Linked DNA regions of Homo sapiens: regions 1, 3 and 4 are each linked to region 2. The links are contacts of gene promoters, found by promoter capture Hi-C in blood cells and fetal thymus (Javierre and others, 2016). All regions are on one chromosome and are shown on one strand. Each heading gives the region's core, a stretch centred on a gene start or on the middle of the fragment in contact. The rest is flanking DNA. Distances are from core to core; before and after follow the strand shown. Region 1 has its middle 34 kb from the start of RAPGEF1. Region 2 holds the start of MED27 (mediator complex subunit 27). Region 3 has its middle 80 kb from the start of RAPGEF1. Region 4 has its middle 51 kb from the start of RAPGEF1.

The links. The method cuts DNA at HindIII sites, captures the fragments that hold promoters and counts their contacts. A CHiCAGO score of 5 or more calls a contact.
Region 1: a contact is called between a fragment that was not itself captured here and the fragment with the promoter of MED27 in region 2, in 1 of 17 cell types (endothelial precursors). The highest score is 5.1, in endothelial precursors.
Region 3: a contact is called between a fragment that was not itself captured here and the fragment with the promoter of MED27 in region 2, in 1 of 17 cell types (endothelial precursors). The highest score is 6.4, in endothelial precursors.
Region 4: a contact is called between a fragment that was not itself captured here and the fragment with the promoter of MED27 in region 2, in 1 of 17 cell types (endothelial precursors). The highest score is 5.6, in endothelial precursors.

The regions. Positions count from the first base shown.
Region 1 is chr9:131,771,185-131,776,724 of GRCh38, forward strand. No RefSeq gene overlaps it. Among named protein-coding and RNA genes, the nearest start is that of RAPGEF1, 34 kb to the left of the region's middle. The HindIII fragment of the contact is 5,545 bases long and covers 1-5,536 here.
Region 2 is chr9:132,076,757-132,081,906 of GRCh38, forward strand. MED27 (mediator complex subunit 27) reads right to left here and starts at 3,111. Exons shown (of 8, transcript NM_004269.4): 1 at 2,886-3,111; 2 at 686-830. The coding sequence starts at 3,088. RefSeq lists enhancers at 1-84, 3,008-3,287. The HindIII fragment of the contact is 6,112 bases long and covers 1,415-5,150 here.
Region 3 is chr9:131,817,663-131,822,963 of GRCh38, forward strand. No RefSeq gene overlaps it. Among named protein-coding and RNA genes, the nearest start is that of RAPGEF1, 80 kb to the left of the region's middle. The HindIII fragment of the contact is 1,398 bases long and covers 2,718-4,115 here.
Region 4 is chr9:131,788,850-131,793,604 of GRCh38, forward strand. No RefSeq gene overlaps it. Among named protein-coding and RNA genes, the nearest start is that of RAPGEF1, 51 kb to the left of the region's middle. The HindIII fragment of the contact is 493 bases long and covers 2,945-3,437 here.

The DNA of each region.
Region 1 (5,540 bases), core at 1,514-4,013, 310 kb before region 2:
AAGCAGACGGAAATTCAGGGAGGCTAGAATGTAGAGTGCAAGTGAGAGGGTAACAGGAAACAAGGCTGGAGGTGTTACTTTAAGAGTAATCGCTTGCCGGGCATGGCTCACGCCTGTAATCCCAGCACTTTGCGGGGCCAAGGCGGGTGGATCACTTGAGGTTAGGAGTTTGAGACCAGCCTGGACAACATGGTGAAATCCCGTCTCTACCAAAAAATACAAAAATCAGCCGGCCGTGGTGGTGCGTGTCTGTAGTCCCAGCTACTTGGGAGGCTGAGATAGGAGAATCGCTTGAACCTGGGAGACGGAGGTTATAGTGAGCCGAGATTGCAACAACTGCACTCCAGCTTGGAAGACAGAGTGAGACCCTATCTCAAAAAAAAAAAAAAAAAAAAAAAAGGACTCACGGATGATGGATCAGTGGGCCCTTCCAGTGAGTCAAGTACACTCATCATCTCATTGCTTCTTCCTGTCTGCCTATGAGGGAGTACTTTTATTATCCCCACTTTAGGGATATGATAACTGAGACCATGAGGTGGAGTAGCCTGCCTGAGGATTTAACCCAGGTGCGCTTGGCTCCAGAGCTGGCAGTCTCCACTTGGCCCTGTGGCAGGCCCTGGCTTCATCCTGAGGCACTGTACAGCAGATGTGCAGCCATGAGGCCGGCATGCCCAGCCTGCAGACCCCTGGCCCATGCCTGTTCTGTTCCTCCCACTTGGCTTGTGCTGAAGCTCCTGTGGTATCCCTGAGCTCCGCCCAAGCTGCAGCTCAACTCTGCAATGGCTTCTGGCCCTCTGTGGGGTCCAGTTCTTCTTTTCTGGACAGCAGAATCACAGCTGCACAAAGGTACTTGGAGGCCCTCTCCACCTCTGCCTGGAAGCAGGGCTGCTGCTGCACTGGAAGAATAACCCCCATCGAATGGGGTGTCCCCAGGGTCCTGCCTTTCTTCCCTGCCTTTCTCCGTGGCCAGGAGATCCTCTGGTAGGGCCGACGGGATGTGAAGGTGACCCCAGGCTGCCTGCAAGAGGACTCTTCCAAACAAAAGCCTGACCAACAAACAGCCATGCCAGCAGGGAATACAATCAATATTCCGAAGTCACAAAAACCGGCTTCAAAGCCAGCAGTGGCTGGGAAGCCAGAGTGAGGGGTTGTGGAAGGTTCTGCTCACTCCTGCTCTGTTGCCAGGGCCCAGTGGCGCTAGGGAGGGGAGTGGCAAAGGCGGATGGTAAAATGGTTAGGCTGGTGGAGCTGACATGGGGCCCTGGAATCAGAAACCCATTCCCTGTACACTGAGTACAAATTAACTCTGCAGCCTTGGGCACGTCTCCATCTCTCTGGGCTTCAAAAGAGGAGAAAAATGAAGAGGTTGAATAAAATGCTCTTTCTGGGGTCTGAAGAGATTACGTATTTCCCCTGAGGTCCCCCAACTGTGAAGCAGAGACTGTTCTCAAACTCAAGTCTGACTCCTGGGCCCACGCCAGCAGTCCACGGTCAGGCTAGATGGAGCCATGTCAGGAGCCGCCGCCGACATGCGGGCTGTGCTCAGAGCCCCGCCCAGCACTGGCTGGACCAGGTCTCTCTGATGAGGAAGACAAGGCATGGCTGGAGGCTCTCTGCAGGTGGAGAGTTGGAGGACAGCCTGGTCGGGGGGACAGAGTGGGTACTGGGGCTGACTCACCGCCATGCCAGCACCCTTCCTTGGGGAACCGCCCTTCCTGAGCTGGGCAAGTGGGAGCCTCTGAGGGGTCAGTCGCTGCCCAGGAGTTTGGCCGAGACATCCACCCTCTGTATGAATCCTGCCTTTTATGTTCTGCATTTCCATTGCTTTGACATCTTGGGGTCTTGCTGACTCTGGAGGGACTGCCCCCACCCAGGGCCAAGTCCCAGGGGTAATAAAGGGCTCACTTAGGAGCACGCCTTTCATATGAAAACCATGCAGTCTGGTGTTCACACCCCAATAGTCTCCTTTTCCTCACTCTGACACTCTGGGCCCCTGCCTACCTGCCCCAATCGCCCCAGGGCCAGGTATCAGACAACTAGGAACAGCCCCTATGCCCCAGAGAACCTGAAATTATTCAAGTGAGCTGACCCCAATCCTGCTCATTCCCATGGGAACCACAATAAAGGCTCTTGGCCACCCCTTCCCCTGGCTCCCTCTGCCTCTTGACTGACCTCGGTGTTTCCCTGTGTGGCCCTGTGTTTCCTGTTTGGCCCTGTGTGATGTGGTGAGTCCCCTCCTCTTGGGGTCTGTGGGTATAACAAACCTTCTTTTTTTTTTAGACGGAGTCTTGCTCTGTCGCCCAGGCTGGAGTGCAGTGGCGCGATCTCGGCTCACTGCAAGCTCCGCCTCCCGGGTTTACGCCATTCTCCTGCCTCAGCCTCCCAAGTAGCTGGGACTACAGGTGCCCGCCACCACGCTCGGCTATTTTTTTTTTTTTTTTTGTATTTTTAGTAGAGATGGGGTTTCACCTTGTTAGCCAGGATGGTCTCGATCTCCTGACCTCGTGATCGGCCTGCCTTGGCCTCCCAAAGTGCTGGGATTGCAGGCTTGAGCCACTGCGCCCGGCCAACAAACCTTCTTTCTAATGGCAGTCCCTTGATCTGTTAGCCTCACCATACCTGAATAATAATAAAACCTACATTTTAGAACGCCTTCATATATGAATGCCCGCGTCGGTCCCTCCTTGGATAGCCTGGGAGAAGAGCCTGCTCCTGGGGCGTTGATGTAGTGGAGGGAGCCCTGGATGAAGTCTAGGTGTCTGAGGATTTGAGTCCCACCCTTGGCTGTTTGGTGCCCCCTCGGCAGCCTCACTGTGAGGCAGGGCAGCTGGGCAGCCGGGCAGCCGGGCAGGGACTATGAGTTCCTTTGCTATATCAGAAACTGGAGTGACCTGTCCAAGGTGCTGAACTGGACTAGTCCACTCACCCTCTCCCACTCAGTTCTTTCTGACTCCCAGACCAGGGCTACAGGCCCTTATTGGGACACCTGTGGGAGTGACTTCCTACTCAGGACGAATGGTGTTGGGAATGCCCCTCCCCTCACTCGGAGGGTGGGGGTTCTCAGCTAAGAGTTCAGACTGTGCCCATAGCTGATTGGACGAGGTAAGCACATGACCAAGGAGGACCAATCCATTCACTCTCCCAGGTACTTGCAGGTGGGGCCAGGAAGGGTCTGTGGGTCCAGCTGGGGTTGGTGAGTGGCCCTTCTTCTCCCCTTGCTTTGGAGAATACAGGGGAATGAGTCAACGCCTCCAAGGGGGGTTCAGCAAAAGAAGAAGCCAGGAGCCTAGGGGTTTGATGTTTAGGCCTCAGATTCTGCTCTGTCCAGAGGCCTGGCTGCCTCTTGTTCCTGGGTAATGGAGGTCACTCTGGTAACTTTCAAAGTCCCCCTGCTCAAGGGCTCTGGCTCTTTGCCTGCACAGCCTCCTCTGCGGCACCCCAGGGCCCCACTCCCTCCCCTGCGGCTTCATGAAAGCCCTCATTTTACAGATGGCTTGAGACACAGACAGGTTAAGCTGCCTCCCCCAGGGTTTGGGGGCCCCAGGGCAGCTGGGGTGGCAGTTGTGGAAGGGGCACTGGAAAAGGAGTCGGGCTGTGGCTGGGAGCTGGCAGCTGCACCCTGTCCAACAGCTCAGGGCTCACCAGCCTTGCTGAGCCAGCACACCGGCGGAGACTGAGGGAAGCTGGGGCAGTTTGTGAGGTCTCAGGAGACTCCCAGTGGCAGAGAGCTGGCTGCCCCCAAGCTCCTTGCCTGGGGCCCAGGCAGTTTGCTGTGTCACTGCAACCACCCTGGCTTCTCCTGGGGAGAGAGGACAGACAGAACGGCAGCCAGGAGAAGGCAGGTTGGCCGGCCAGACCCTGGGGTGGGCTGGGAGGTCTCAGCTCTGTTTGAATGTGGCTACCTTTTAGGAGGCAAATCCCACCTGAGGCAGGGCCAGGTCACTGGCACTGCAGACTTAGGGAGCCAGGCCTCTTGCCCATGCATGTCACATCACAGCCCGTCTGTGATTCCCCCTTCCCGGCTTCTGTTTCCTCCAACCCTCTCCTCTGTGTTGAACTAAATACTTTTCAAAGGGAATCAATGCAGAGAGAGGGTTTTTTGTTTGTTTGTTTGTTTGTTTGTTTTTCAGAAGCAACACCAGGCTCTTTAATTTAAACTCTCCATGAGCTCTTCCATCCAGCGAGCTTTCCTGGCTCATCTGAAAGTTGGGCCCTATCCCTGACCTTGAGGGAGGGATGACCTCTGACCTGGGGGGAAGAATGACCTATACTTTTGGGGCTGTGGGGGCCTCCCTGCCACTTCCTCCTTCTGTTACGGTGGCATCACCTGTCCTTGCCACCTTCCCACCTGCCCCAGATTGCACACCTGCCCCCAGTGCAGCTCTGCCCCAGTGAGGAACTCTGCCCACTTGGCTGGTCCGTTCTGACAGAGGACTTTCTGTTTGCTGGGCAACCAGAGGCAGAGTGACCCTGGCCTTCTGGAGGGCCACAGCCTAGGGCTAGAAGGAGGAGTGACAGGAGGGCAACAGCTCATGTAGGTCACAGAGTGTGAGCTTGAAAGGGACTTGAGAGACCATTAGGTCCACTGCCCCTTCCCTGCTTCTCAGAAGGGGATTCCCCAAGACCAGCCTTGAAACCAGTAGACTAACTGATCAGTTGAATAATTTTAACACCCACCACTTACATGTTGGATGCTTACTGCATGGTATGCACTTCACTGGGTCCTATTATCTGTTAGCACCACAATGAGCCCATGAAGTGGGTGTCCTTTGTGCGGTTGAGAAAGTGGAGGCTACAGGAGGCTATGCCACTTTCCCAAGACCTAACCTCTGGTTAGCAAGAGAGAGAGTGGAACTTGAACCCAGGGATGGTAGATTCCCAAGTGCAAGTCTGAAGGCTGCCCCACCCAGCCCACCTCCTGAGAGATGAGAACACCCAGCCGTGGGGGCCTCATAAGAATTCAGCAAAGGAGCCATTCCTGGTGTCCCAGGCCAGCCCCAGCTCCCTCCCCTCCCTGAACAAGGACAGAATGCCTGCAGTTCCCCATGGAGTGGCAGGATGGCACATCCCTGTGGGGAGCCTGCAGCCTTGGGCCTCAGCCACTGGGTCTGTGCCAGCCCTACCACGGGCATCATTTGAGAATGTCAGCGAGGCCCTCACTCCCTGCAGCAGGCTTGCTGGCTCTTTATGCCAATATTTTTGTGGGACATCCACTCTGCCCAGATCTGTACTTGGTGCTGACCCCCTGTCCTTCAAGTGTCGTCTGTCCAGTCCAGAAAAGAGCCCAAGACCCATGACAATCCTTTTGGGATATAAAGGATCTAAGAAGGCAGCCAGCAGGAGCCCTGGAGACCATCTGATCTGTCCTGCCCATCTTTCAGACGGGGAGCCTGGGGCTCGGAAATAGGGTAGGACTTGCCCAGGGCCTCACAATCCACCATTGGGCAGGCCGGGATGTGAACCTCAGGCCTCAAGCGGTGCAGGACCCTGGACAGCTCCCAGGCTCTGAGAGACTCCAGGCCTGGGTTCATGGTGAAGCT
Region 2 (5,150 bases), core at 1,861-4,360:
AACAAAAGGAACTTGTTAGTAAACAAACGAACCGTTTCCAGATTCATGAGCCTAATTGTTTCTGTTATTTTTCAGCTACAGTTTAGTTTGCAACTTACAGCTGTCCTAGGGTCTCTGCCACAGGCCTGCCTGCTGAAAGAAACCATGAATATCAAACTCTACAGAGCATGTTAAGAACAATCTCCCTTAGGTGGCATCTAAGTAATTAGAGAGTCATCTAACAAACGGTATTCTAGTGATGCTCATCCATCTGTGACAGAGGAAAAGACAATACAAGAACATAATGTGCGCAGCTAAACATTTAGACACCTCCTGGGGGCCACAGATTCCTCTGCGAACCTGACAAAAGCTAGGAAGCCTTCCCTAGATATACATGCACATACCACAACATACTGCATATAATTTTAAGGGGTTCATAAGAGTTGCTCCCTATACCCAGTCTCCAGGTTAAATACACCTGAGTTAGAATTTTTAACATGTAATCACCTGAACATCATGAATCCCCAAAGACTTCAAAGGACTACAAAATAGGTTACAGAAAAATTCTACAACTTCCAACTCTATAACCCCATGCTGAATCAAGAACATAAAAAGCAATAAAAACATACTCTTGCTTTCTGCATGTATGGAATATAAGAAAACTTGGTTTTCCATATATTAGCTCCGTTTATTACATCTCCCTTACCTTGTTTGACCACTTATATGCTTGAAGGAGTTGACTATAGAGAGGAGTTTTGTCCTGCACAGGATCCAGGCTTAACAGCCCACTGTTATGAAGAGGATGGTTCTCAGATGGCTTGCCTACCAGATTGCTCAGACGTTCCAGCTCACTGAAAAGCAAAGAGACAAGGCAAATAAACCTAAGCCCATTTACACTCCAGGGTAAAGCCAGCCCCCAGGATCAAAGACTGCTCTTCAAACCATCCATCAGAAGTCCCTTAAGAAGAAATACTTTTTGAAAGGTTAAAAAATACTTGGGACACTTAAAAAAAAAAACCCTAAATGAGAGTTTATCTGACTTTAAAACAGAGCTTCTGGTGCCATTCCAAAGGAGGAAAAAAAAGGTAAGGGCAGTAGAATCAATAAGACCCCCATAATCAGAAATTAACAACTCAAATTCATCCCTGCAGTGGGGAGGAGACTTTCTGGAATTTTGAAATGTGGTATAACACTGCCTCTCACTAAGAGTTTTCAGACCCACGTGCAGATCATTACACTTGGCAGAACAGCAAGTACCTGATTAAATGATGATTATTTATCATTCACATAGGGATAGATTTGTACATGATGCTTCACAGATGGTAAAACTTAACAAAACAAAGAAGAGATAAAATAAACAAATGGAATGGGAAGACACCACTGAGGTGGCTGTGTCAAACAAACACACTTCAGTCTAGCAGGAAAACCCTAGAGAAGCTTGGGAAAGCGAGCCAACAAGAGCACATTCCAGGAGTACGTTCTGAGGGGCCAGTCCCAAACTGCCAACAAAAGACTCTCTAGGAACAGCTTCTTATGCCACATTCATTTTGGAATCATCAGCCACCTTCTTCTTGGCACTACTGTACAAAGATTTAAGAAGGCAAAAGGATAATGTCAGCACTCTTAAAGTTTCTATTTAAAATGGTGAAGGGTTATAATATCCTGAACATTACAAAGGGAAGTAACTCGGAGAGAAAATGGAAAGAAAACAGAAGATAGGGAAGAATAGCCAGTGCATCCCCTGAAGCAGAGAAAGTATTAACTGGTGCTCGGCGCGGTGCCAGAGAACAGCAAGCGGATGTGGGCGTTGAGGAGGGCTGTGTGATTTACGGCAACTACTTAGGGGGAAAACAAAAAGGCACCCATCATTTGGCCACCTCCTCCTCCTCCTCCTCCATCCTACCTCCTCTTTCCATCTGGTTACTAAGGAGACCAAGTTGAAAAAACAAAAATCCAACCAGTCCAGAAATCAAAGGATGACTAGCTCACCAAATGCTTTCCCCTACTCAGGTCAGTTCTGAGAAGTAAAAGGCAAAAATCCTGAAATTCTAACCTTCCTGGGAAGGACTGACTCTCTTATAAAACAGAAGGCAAGTTCAGGACCTAAGCAATCAAGAAGTGCCTACTATGTGCCAGGCCCTTTACAAACATCCTCTCATTTAATTCTTACAACACTTAAAAAGTGTAAGTGAAGAAGGTACTTTGTAAGGAAGAGGAGGAAAAGTGGAATCCTTAACCCTAAAAGACTACAAATTAAGAAGCAGGGGCGTTAAGCATAAGTAATTAAACTGGTTAAGAGATTAGAGAGTAGGTCTCTACTGCGGAAGGAACTCCCACAGGAGTGGGAGTGAGGAAACTGATCAGGTGGTTTGGGAGCGGTTAGGGGAAAAGGTGAAGACAGCTCAAGGCCTGGCCGGTCCGTCGTGGTTGCGGGTGGGTGGTGGTGGAACTGATGAAGTCCAAGTTCAGGGCCGGGGAATTGGGGCTAATCAGATCGGGTGCACTTGGGTTTGGAGCCGACTGACCAGGTCCTGTCTGTACTATTACTACATTCGGATCAGACGTGATGGGGCACAGAGGGCCTACAGGTGAGAAACCTGCCAAGCTCAGAGAAGTGGAAGTTCATGGGAAAAGCATGCCTCCTTGTTAGGAATGGAACCGCCACAGAAGAGGTCGAGGATGGCGGAAGACAAACAGGACCAGGAGGCCAGGAGAAGCAAGACGAGAAAGCGGGGATGGTGTTAAGATGTCCCTGAGGGACAGGCAGAGGCTTGGAGAACAAGAAGAGAAAGAACAGGGATCAAGGGAAACGGAGAACAGCCCCTGCCTGGGAAGACTCGAGCGACGTAGGGGCAGGGTCGGAGCGGGGCCGGTCCCCGACCCCGGCCCCTTCAGCCGGTACCTACTTGAGGTCCCGGTTGACCGAATGTAAGTTGTCCTGGAAGTGCGCAATAAAGGCCTTCTCCCGGCCCTCCAGCGTCTCCTTGTTCCGCATCCCATCCTTCAGGCAGTCGAACACCCTGCTCACGCTGGAGCGCAGCGCCTGGATGGCACTAATGGCCTGGGAAAAGGCCTCCAGGTTCACACTGACATTTATCACGTCCGCCATGTTGCCGCCGCCACAGCAGCTCTCCAAAGCCGGCTTCGCAAGCAAAAAAGCCGCGCTCGCTGATGACGTATCTCCGAAGACCTCTGGGAAATGCAGTTCGCGCGGGGCTACCCAGAAAGCACTTTCGAAAAAGGGTTTCCCCTTGAGCTAAACTAATGCATGGGCAGGAAAGTGATTTTTCTCAACTTGGGGAAGTCAGGTTGCACTCCCGGTTTGCTTAATGGTGACAAAGAAATACAGAAAGTTCCCGCATTTCCCCAAACTTGCACTCTGGGGAATCATAGGGAAAAGAATTGCTCAGAGCAATAGTGTAAAAAGGAAAGGAACATAGCCCATTCAATAAAATGAGTCCATATTCATAAATAAAGCGGGGAGAAGGAAAGTTTCTTCTTTCCAATAGAATGCCAGCTCATAAATGCAGAAAGAGTGATGGAATTAGAAAATTGCCATTTGACAGCCATTAGAATAATTGATTCAGATAGAAATCGATGGATGCTAAAACTAGTGGGTGAAAGTGTCAGAAAAATAACAGGCTTTTTAGGTAATCTCAAAGTATCGTCCCCCAAGATGCTTATTAATTAAGAAGAGGAAAATAATGATCCAGAGATTCCACTTCTGGGCATATACCCAAAAGAAGCGAAAGCAGGGACTCAATACCTGTACACATGTTCATAACAGCATTATTCACCAAATAGCCAAAAGGCAGGGGAAACCCAAGTGTCCATAAACTGATGAATAAACAAAGTGTGATACTGGCATACAATGAAAAATTCTTCAGGCTTAAGCAAGAAAATTCTGACATATGCTACCTGGAGGAAACTTGAAGACATTATGCTAAGTGAAATAAGCCAGTCACAAAAAAACAAAATTCTGTGTGACTCCACTTATATGAGGTGTTTAGGGTAGTCAAAATGTTAGAGACAGAAAGTAGAATGGTGGCTGGTTTACAGTGAACACACACCTCTGAAAATAACATACATAGCATAGAGGTTGTGGAAGAAAGAGAAGGTTTGGGATTTAAATAAAACCAACAAAATGTTGGCCAAATCTGGCTTTATGGAAAAATTCAATGTCTCTTTGTCCTGTTGGCTATAGACAGGTTTCTGAAAATTTATTATCTTTTTACTAAAGGGAACCTGCCCAAGTCCTCATGTTCTTTCCTTAGAGGAGCTGGGGTTGCATAGCTTGGAGCAGAGAAGAGGAGAGCAGGAGGCAGATCATGATTGTGACCTTCAACTCACCTTCATGTCAACCCAAGACAAGAGTCCTCCTTGGTTAACTAGTGGCAATAACAATAACCAGTTGTAGGAAGGCTGTAGAGAGGAAGATTTCAGCATAATATTGCAAAGGGCCATATTTAAGTCTGTACTTAAAGAGTACAGACTTGGAAAAGTTTTACAGCTGGATGGTGGTGATGGCCATACAACAATGTGATTGTACTTAATGCCACAGAACTGGACACTTAGAAACAGTGAAAATGGTTGATTTTATATTATGTATATTTTACCAAAAAATTTTAAACAATTCATTAATGTAAACATAAGGGGGGATGGATAGTGACTTAATAGTGACTTCACAGTGGAGAAACATGGCAGACACCAGCTTAACCAAAAGGCCAAGGTCAACATCACCAGTGACGGGACATGTTGTGCACCTCCTGATACAATGCACTGGAAAGAGCACAACATGACCTCCATGATATTCTTGCCAGCAGTGCATAACCTGAATCTAATCAGGACATCAATAGAACTCAAACTGAAAAACGTGACAAAATAACTGACTGACCTATACTTTTTCAAGAAATATCTGTGTCAGGCCATACACTGTGGCTCACACCTGTAATCCCAGCACTTTGGGAGGCCAAGGTGGGTGAATCATTTGAAGTCAGGAGTTCGAGACCAGCCTGGCCAACGTGGTGAAACCCCATCTCTACTAAAAAGACAAAAAATTAACTGGGCGTGGTGGTGGGCACCTGTAATCCCAGCTACTTGGGAGGCTGAGGCAGGAAAATTGCTTGAACCTGGGAGGTGGAGGTTGCAGTGAGCCAAGAGTGCATCATTGC
Region 3 (5,301 bases), core at 2,167-4,666, 260 kb before region 2:
TGAACTCCTGACCTTGGTGATCCACCCACCTCCACCTCCCAAAGTGCTGGGATTACAAGCGTGAGCCACCGTGCCTGGACCAGAATCTTTATAATGTGGCAAACAACAATGGCACCTGGATCTACTGGCGGCACAGTGGCGTCTGGCTTCTTGGCACGATTCCAAATCACAGCTGGGAACAAAGACGTCCTACTGGAGGCCTCTTGGGGCCAGGAGAAGGGGTCTTGGAGATAACCCAAGTCACAGGTCACAATGTCAACTGAGTGGCGTATGGTAAGCCACAGCCACGCCCCATCTTTTTGTCCCCAAATGTTTGTGTTTACTTTTATTTACGTATAACTGACATAATAGGAAATATGTATTTGTTCTCTGCCCTGGCTCTTGGCTCCTGGCACAGAGCTTCTAAAACCCTCGTAATTTCCTGAGTGATGAAGTGATGGCAGCATCTTTTGTTAATAATATTTAATAATATTTGGTCTTGTCCCCGGTTCCTGATCCAAGAGCTTCTAAGACCCTTGGCATCTCTGGAGTGATGAGTGTCTTTTTATATGCTAATGAGATGACTGGTGGCTGGGGGCCCCTAGATAGCTTCAGGGTGGGGGCTGGTGGCCACAGGAACCAACCGTGAAATTGGAGGGCTGGAACATTCAGCCCCCTCATCTCTGAGGAAGGGAGAGGGGCTGGAGATTGAGTTAATCTCCAATCCTCATTCACGCCAATGGAATGGAACCTCTATAAAAACACTCAACACCGGGGTTTGGAGACCTGGGTTGGTGAACACACGGAAATGCTGGGAGGTTGCCGTGCCCAGAGCGGGCATGGAAGCTGTGTGCTCCTCGCCCATGTCTTGCCAGATGCAGCTCTTCCAACTGGCTGGTCCTGAGTCGTGTCCTTTATAAAAACTGGTAAATGTAAATGAATGTTGCCCTGAGTTTTATGAACCATTCTAGCAAATTATTGAACACGAAAGGGGGTTGTGGGAACCCCCAATTTATAGTCAGTGGTTCAAAAGTACAGGAGGCCCCAACTTGGCCTCTGATGTGGGGTGCAGTCTGTAGGATTGTGGGGTCTGCGCTAACTCTGGGCAGCTAGTGTCAGAATCCAGTTAAATTGCAGGACACCTGGTCGATGTCTGCCAAGAACTAAAGAACTGGTTGGTGTGGGGCAACCACACCAGACATCAAACCACATGTGATGTCTGAAATGTTGGGAGGATTTAGAAAGACAACTATTTCCCTTTAATAACACACGCAGTAAATTGCCTGTAAGTGTCCAGAGTATATGAATGAGTGAGTGCCCATGAATGGATGGATTTTCACAAACTGGTCCCATGGAACCAGCACCTTTGAAGGCCCCTCGTGTCTGTGTCTGTGCTTTGTATAAATGGGATGACACACGTGTACCCTTTGGTGTCTGGCTTCTATTTCTCAGCATACATTCGGGAGACTCATCCACGTTGCTGTGTGTTGAGGTAGATGATTAATTTTCCTTGCCGTACAGTATTCCAATGCGTGAGAATACTACACTCTGCCCATTCTACTATTGTTGGGCTTCTGGGTAATTATAAACAGTGCTGCTATGAACATTCTGGTGCATGGCTTTTGTTTTCCAAAGTGTTGTTCTCATTTTCCTCCCACCAGTAGTGTAAGAGAGGTGCATTGCTCCACATCCTCACCAACTTGTATTATTATTTTCTATCTTTTTTGTTTTAGCTTTTCTGGTGGGTGTGTATTGACATTGCACTGTGGCTTGTATTTGCATTTCCCTGTTGGCTAATGAAGCTGAGCCTCTTGTCATATGGGGTATTTTTCGGTTCATTTGGGAACCCTGTTGGCCTCTCTGCCTATCCAGGCCCATTTATCTCCTGGGATGTCTGTCTTTTTCTTACTGGTTTGTAGGCACGTTATAAGTATGAATCCTTATATTGCATTAATTACACTGTACAGATGACCTTTTCACTCTCTTAGTAGGTTCTTCTGATGAATAAACATTCTTACTATAGTCCAATTTATTTTTTTTATGGTTAGTTTTGTGTCCTATTTAACACATCTTTGCCAAGTCCAAGATCACAAAAGTGTAATGCTTTATTGTAAATGCTTTATTGTTTGTATTTCACATTTAGATCTAGAATCCACCTGGAATGGATATTTTGTTATTTGTGAGATATGTTTGTTTTGTTTTGTCATAGAGACAGGATCTTGCTCTGTTGCCCAGGCGAGAGTGCAGTGGCATGATCACAGCTCATTGCAGCCTTGACCTCCTGTGCTCAAGCAATCCTCCTGCCTCAGCCTCCAGAGTAGCTGAGACTACAAGCACCCACCACCGCGCCTGGATAATTTTTAAACTTTTTAGAGATGGTATCTCACTGTGTTACCCAGGCTGGCCTCAAACCCCTGGCTCCAAGCAATCTTCCTGCCTCAGCCTCCCAAAGTGCTGGGATTACAGGTATGAGCCACCATGCTTCGCCTTGTGAGGTATGTTTTTGAGATGACCCTCTTTTCCCCATTTATGGCTGGGTTGCCCTGTTGAGTACACTGTGGGGAGGGGAGGTCTCTTTCTGGATTCCCTCTGTTCTATCGGTCAGTTTGTCTATTCTTGTGCCAATCCCACACTGTCCTAATTACTGTGGCGTTTTTTTTTTCTTCTGATGTCTTGTAGTGTGAGTCTTTCAGCCTTGTTCTTTGTTCTCAAGATCTTCTTGGCTATTCTTGGCCCAAAGCTTTTCTATATGAATTTTAGGCTCAGCTCGTCAATTTCCATGAGAAAGAAACCTCCTGGGATTTTGATTGAAATTGCATTGAATTTAGATATTCATTAGGGGAAAGCGATATGTTTACAGTATTGTAGTTTTCCAATCCGTGAACATGGTATATACCTCTATTTGTTTAGATCTTTGTTAATTTATCTCAATGGCATTTTGCAGTTTTTAGTGTAGGTTGCACGTCTTCATTAGACTTCTTTCTACTCTCAAACCTACAGCTAATTTGCAAGAATGGAACAATGAAGACTCCTAGACCTACTCACCTGCCTTAAAGATATGCTATTGTCCCCCAGAGAGGTGGCAAAATGGTTTGTATTTTTGTCTTAAGCCTTGGACTTTTAAAATCCTGGATTTTGATGTGTGTGCAGAAGAGAACTAAGATAGCGTGCTTGAGACCGCTCTCCTTTAAAAGGCCTGCTTGCAAGAGTAGCCTCTGACTGGCATCTGGGAACTTGGATCTTGAGAGAGTTGCCACCATTCTCTAACTTTGCTGTGCTGCTTTGCTGTGCCTGAACTGTTTGCACACAAAATGGGGTTTATGCAGAACACCTGCTTGCCCTCTGGAGGTCTGGAATTTTGTTTCATGCTAGATAGAGAATGCTATGTGACCAGATCTCCATAAAAACCCCAGGCACTGAGTCTCTAATGAGCTTCCCTGGTAGACGACACTTCGACTGTGCTGCTACAACACGTTGCAGGAGGAATTGCTCCCATGAGACTGCCCTGGGAAGGAACCCTTGGAAACTGGCACCTTCTTGCCTGGGACTTTGTCCAATGCACCTTTCCCTTTGCTGATTTTATTTTGTGTCCTTTTGCTGTAATAAGTCATAGTTGTGATACAAAGAGTATGCTAAGTCCTGTGAGTCCCAGTGAATCACTGAACAGGAGGTAGGGGTGGTGTTATGGACCCTTGACACAGTGTGAAAGCTCCAGATGTTTTATGTTGATTCAAAATGAAAACTTCTGAAGCTCACATGAATCGTGTCTGTAGGCCAGACATGGCCTACGAGCAGGCACTTTGGGGCTTCAGAGTGAGCTCGAGCCCCTCACTGGACAGGGATCAAGTGAGGCCTAAGGTGGGACTTGCCCCCTCCCAGGTGCCCAAGCTGGAAAGAGGGTCTGGGCTTCCCAGGCCAGAGCTGCTTTCAGGAGAATGTACCTGGTGGAAGAAGTGGTGGAAGGAAGGAAATCATGTCTTGGTTTCTGATGGGAGAAGGTTTTCAATCTATGTTGTGTGAAAAAGCAGTTGGTACAGAGACTCTGTACCCATAACATGATTTTATTTCATAGATAGGATCTCTATATCTCAGCCTTAGAAACAGGGAAATTCTGACGCATGCTACAACCTGGACGAAGCTTGAGGACATGATGCTGAGTGAAATAAGGCAGTCACAAAAGACAAATGCTGCAGAATTCCACTTCTATGTGGTCCCTAGAGTTGTCAAATCCATAGAGGCAGAATGGAGGTTGCTAGGGGATGGGGAGGGGGAATGAGGAGTGAGTGCTTGATAGGACAGAGTTTCAGTTTAGAAGATGAAAGCGTTCTGGAGATGGACGGTGGTGATGGCTGCAAACAATATACACCTAAAAATGGTTTAAATGGTAACTTTTATGTTATATATATTTTACCACAGTTAAAACATAGCAAGATAAAATAGGATGTCTCTCTGTTCACATCGCTATGGTCCTGGGAAGACACAGACCAAGGTGCTCATGGTCATCATCTGTGGATGGAGGGATTGTGGGGGAGAGTTTTCTTTTTGTTTATTTGGTTTTAGAGATGGGGGGCTTGCTATGCTGGCCAGGTTGGTCTTGAACTTCCGGCCTCAAATGATCCTCCTGCTTCAACCTCTCAAAGTGCTGGGATTACAGGTGTGAACCACCGTGCCCAGCCTGGGAGATAGTTTTCTTTCTGCTTTTCTATTTTCCATATTTTTTTTTTTGGCATGCAATATATATTATGTTTTAATGTTGAAAAAAAAATTTTTTTTTTTTTGAGATGGAGTCTAGCTCTGTTGCTCAGGCTGGACTACGGTGGCACAATCTCGGCTCACTGCAACCTCTGCTTCCTGGGTTGAAGCAATTCTCCTGCCTCAGCCTCCCGAGTAGCTGGGATTACAGACGCACGCCACCATGACCGGCTAATTTTTTGTATTTTTAGTAGAGACAGGGTTTCACCATGTTGGCCAGGCTGGTCTTGAACTCCTGACCTCAAGTGATCCACCCACCTTGGCCTCCCAAAGTGCTGGGATTACAGGCATGAGCCACCGCGCCCGGCCTGAAAAAATTTAAATACAGAAAAGCACGGAGAATAACAAAACATTTATGTATGTACTAAATTTGCAGTTTGGAAAAAATTTATTAACAATAAATAGTATGAGAAAAAAAATCAATGTCGTCAACCAGAAACATTGGGGAAAAAAAAGACAACCTAATTGTTTTGCAGAAACACCTCCAGCCACACTCCAGTTGGAAAATATCATAGAATTGGGCCTGGGCCTCTTCCCAGGTACCTGTTTCTGGCCAGGCAGCGGCCACCT
Region 4 (4,755 bases), core at 1,941-4,440, 290 kb before region 2:
CCCTCCCAGAACAAGACATAGACCATTTCCGTCACTGTCTAGTCAATACCCTCCTCTGCTGTTCTGATTTTTAATACCATAGATCACTTTTGTCTGCCCTAGGAATTTCTTTCTTTTCTTTCTTTCTCTTTCTTTCTTTCTTTTTTCTTTCCTTCTTTCTTTCTTTCCTTCTTTCCTTCTTTCTTTCTTCCTTCTTTCTTACTTTCCTTTCTTTCCTCTTTCTTTTTCTTTCTTTCTTTCTTTTCTTTCTTCCTTTTTCTCTCTCTCCCCTTCCTTCCTTCCCTCCCTCCCTTCTTTCTCTTTCTTTTTCTCTCTCTCCCCTTCCTTCCTTCCTTCCCTCCCTCCCTTTCTTTCTTTCCTTCCTTCCTTCCTTCCTTCCTTCCTTCCTTCTTCTTTTTTTGACAGGGTCTTGCTCTGCCACCCAGGCTGGAGTGTAGTGGTATGTAACCTTGGCTCACTGAAACCTCGAACTCCCATGCTCAAGCTATCCTCTCACTTCAGCCTCTTGAGTAGCTGGGACTACAGGCACACACTACCACACTTAGCTATTTAAAAAAAAATTTTGGAGGTGGAGATGGGGCCCCACTACATTGCCCAGGCTGGTCTTGAACTCCTGGCCTCAAGTGATCCTCAATTGGCCTCAGAAAGTGCTGGGGTTACAGGTGGGAGTCACTGTGCCCGGCCTGGGATTTCCTTTGAATGAACCATGCATACTCACTGAGCACATCTCAAGAGTCATCCATGTTGTGGTGTGAACCAGGAGCTTGTCCCTTTCTATACCCCATAATAAGGATGCACCACACTTGGTTTAACCATTTGTCTGTAGATGGACATTTGGAGTTATTCCTAGTTTCTAGTCAATATAAACAAAGCTGCTATGATCATTCCTAAGCAAGTCTTTTTGTGAACATGTGTGTGCATTTCCCTTGACTAAATACCTAGGAGTGGAGTTGCTGGGCTATAGGGTAGGTAGATGCTTAACCATGTAAGAAACTGCCCAGCAGTTCTCCACTGAAGGCGTGTAATCTTACGCTCCTGCAGGATGCATGCAAGTTCCGGTTGCTCCACATCCTTACCAACATTTGGTGATGTTGGTCTTTGGGATTGTAGCTATTCCACTGGTGCTGAATGGAGTCCTGGAGCATGAATTGGGGTTATCCACGAAACAGAGAGGGGCCAGAGAGAGGGCACTCCAGGCCTGGGGGTGAGAAAACCACAGGCAGGTGGGGGAAAAAAATAAAGAGGCTTTGGGGAAGGTGGGAGTGCTGGGCAGTCTGGAGGTGGGGTCAGTTGTGCCCAGCCAGGTCAGACACTCTGGCCTGTGGGGGTTTTCTCTGGAGCACCCCAGATGCCTTCTCTGGGTCCGGGCTCTGTGGGGGACCCCAATGTGGCCTGGGGTTTTGGCTCCTTTGGCAGTCAGTATTTCCCTTGGTTCCTACTGGGAGAGTCAGGGAGGCCCAAGACCGGTGACCGCATTTAGACAGGAGGGACTGATGTGGAGCTCTATGGCTGAACTGTGTAAGAAACGGCCCAACAGTTTCTCTGGTGCCTCCTGCTGCATGATGCTACCTTCCTGCTCTGGGACCCCACAACACTGCACCGTCCTGGGCTCCCCAAGGAGGCAAGAGAGTTAGGATCAGCGTCAAGTCTCAGCCAGACTCAGGCTGAGACCACACTCAAGAATACCAAAGTGCCATGGCTTGAGCGGTGGCTCCCCAAAGAAAAGTTCAAGTCCTAACCCCAAGTGAAGTCCTCACCCTTGTGGCTATGACCTTATTTGGAAGTACAGTCTTTGCTGGTGTCATTGGTTAAATTAAAATGAAGCTCTACTGGATTAGAGCGGTCCCTGAATCCAACGGCTGGTGTCCTGATGACAAAAAAGAAGAAACAGAGACACTAAGGGAAGACAGCAGCGGGGAGACAGAGCTAGAGATGGGAGGGGTGCAATCATGAGTTGAGACACACCCCAGCCACTGGAGAGCAGAGGCTGGAACGGATCCTCCCTCAGTGCCTCCAGGAGGAACCTGCTTGCCAACGCCTTGATTTTAGACTTGCGGCTTTTTTTTTTTTTTTTTTTTTTTTGAGAGAGAATCTCACTCTGTCACCCAGGCTGGAGTGCACTGACATGATCTTGGCTCACTGCAACCTCCGGGGCTCAAGCAATCCTCCCGCGTTAGCCTCCCAAGTAGCTGGGATTACAGGCATGTGCCACCATGCCCGGCTGATTTTTGTATTTTTAGTAGAGACAGGTTTTCGCCATGTTGGCAAGGCTGGTCTTGAACTCCTGGCCTCATGTGATCCGCCTGCCTTGGCCTAGGACTTTTGGCCTTCTGAACAGTGAAGAAATGGAGGTTGAGTTAAGCCACACAGTTTGAGGTAACGTGTTACAGTGGGCCTAGCACCTGAATACACGAAGCCAGGAGGGCCGCTGTGCCCTCTGCCCCATGCTTCCCTCTGGATCCATCCACTGGCATTCTTCTCTCCCTGGAGAATCACCTTCCAGCATCCTCTCCAATTTACTCCCTGACCCCTCCAAATCCCAGCCCCTGTGCCAGCTCCTTCACAGAGCTCCCCAACTGAAGTGAGACCCACGCAAGGCCTGTGTCCCCCTTGTCTGTGTGCAGAACCTGACACCCTGGGCCTCTCAACCAGCATTTGCTGGATGAATGAATGAATGAAAGAATGAATGAATGGATACTTGCACTCTGCAGCAGTTTGCAACCCCTCATGAGGTTCTGCTGCAGAACCATGTTTCTGCAAAGCAAACCTGACCCAGAAGGCACAAGTATGTGAGCTGGATTTGGGGCGACAGCTCTCCTCTCTACAATGGAGCACGGAGATCATTTTACTTCAGCCAACCCCGGCTGGGCTCTCCCCTGCGCAGGTGATCAGCAGGCAGCTTAATTGGCCTGGCAGAGCCGTGGGCTAAGCGGTGGGGAGGGCAAGCTTGCTCATTACTTCCCTGATCCGCTGGGACCTTCCAACCACAATGCAGGACCAGCAGCGATTTCTGCAGGGAGAGGCAGGAGCCTGCGGGGCCCCGGAGCACTCGACACCTGGAAAGGACCCAGGCCTGGGAGGTTCTGCACTGTGGCTGTAGGGCTTGCTGGCCACGGGTCTCCCATCCTGTCAGCGCACGGTCCTGGCTCTCCATGAGTGCAGGGGCTGGTCTGCTGGTTGCCGTGTCCTCAGTGCCCAGCCAGTGCGGGCCGAGGCAGGGCTGCTGCGTCACAGAGCCCCGGGGGCTCCTTCCACCTCAGCTTCTGTGTGAATGGCCCCCCTTGGACTTGTGCAGCTTGGCAGCCCTGGCTACCAGCACCCACCAGGAACTCAGTGAGCGTGCACGGCGGTGGAGGGCACAGGCCACGGTGCTCAGGTTCATAGTGCTGACCAGCAGGTCCAGAGGCCTGGGACACAAATGCTTTTTCCTTAATGCAAGCTTCCGGGTCCTCCTGAGCCCAGTCCAAATGCCAGCTCCTTCATGGTACTCCACTCAGGGCCAGTTTCCCCTCCTTCCTGCCCGCATACAAGCCCCTATCCCCACTTCCCACGAATGCCACTGTGATGGTAACTGTCACCAAGAGCTTGCTGCGTGCTTACTGCGTGCCGGGCACTGAGCCATGGCCCTGGGCGAGTGGCTGCATTCTATCCTCACTGCAACACGGTGGGGCGCATGCTATCATCCCATTTTAGAAATGCCAAAACTGAGGTCCTGAGAGTGAAACAGTCTGCCCAAGGTCATGCAGCTTGTAAGCCGCAGAGGCAAGAATCTGACCCAGGCCCCTCCAACCCAGCCCCACCTTCCAGCATGCTGAGCGCCACCGTGGCAGACGCCTGGAGTCTGTGCCTGCTGTGCCACCCTCGAACCCCTTGAGGGAAAGGAGAGGGTGCCCCAGTGTTCTCCCCAGGCTCCAAGCACAGAGGCCCACTTGGTGTTTGGAGAACAGAGGCTGTCGGGCTGCAGGACTAGGCTCCGGCCCCTCCCTCCCTTGTACTGTTTACTTATGATCTCTCTCTCGACGTTTCGCCCCCAAATGCCCAGAGCCTAGCACAGGGCCTGGCACAAGGAATGCCCAGTGAAAGTTGGTTACATTCAACCCAGTTGGAGGCACGAGCCCAGAAGTGGGAGTGACAGGGAAGGCTCCCCTGAGACCAACAGCGGCCTGACACCCCCTTCAGCCTCCGGGACCCCACCTGGGTCTTGGTCTGTTTTCCCTCTCTCTCTGCATGAGCACTGATGTCCTTCCAGGCTATGCTGGTTGCTGTGACAGTAGCCCCTTCCCCACACGGCAGGGTCTGTGACACCCTAGCCATGCCCACTGCAGCCTTCTCAGGAGAACTGGGAGGAGAGAGAGGGTTTTTTTATTTTTGTTTTTGTTTTTTGAGAAAGGGTCTTGTTCCGTCACGCAGGCTGGAGTGCAGTGGTGTGATCATGGCTCACTGCAGCTTCTGCCTCCCAGGCTCAAGTGATCCTCCTGCCTCAGCCTCCCAAGTAGCTGGGATTACAGGCATGCACCACCACACCTGGGTAATTTCTTTTATTTTTTTACTAAAAAAAATTTTTTTTGAGATGGAGTCTTACTCTGTCACCAAGGCTGGAGTGCAGTGGTGTGATCTTGGTTCACTGCAACCTCCGCCAACCGTGTTCAAGCAATTTTCCTGCTTCAGCCTCTCAAGTAGCTGGGATTACAGGCATGCACCAACATGTACAGCTAAATTTTGTATTTTAGTACATGTTGGCCAGGGTGATCACGA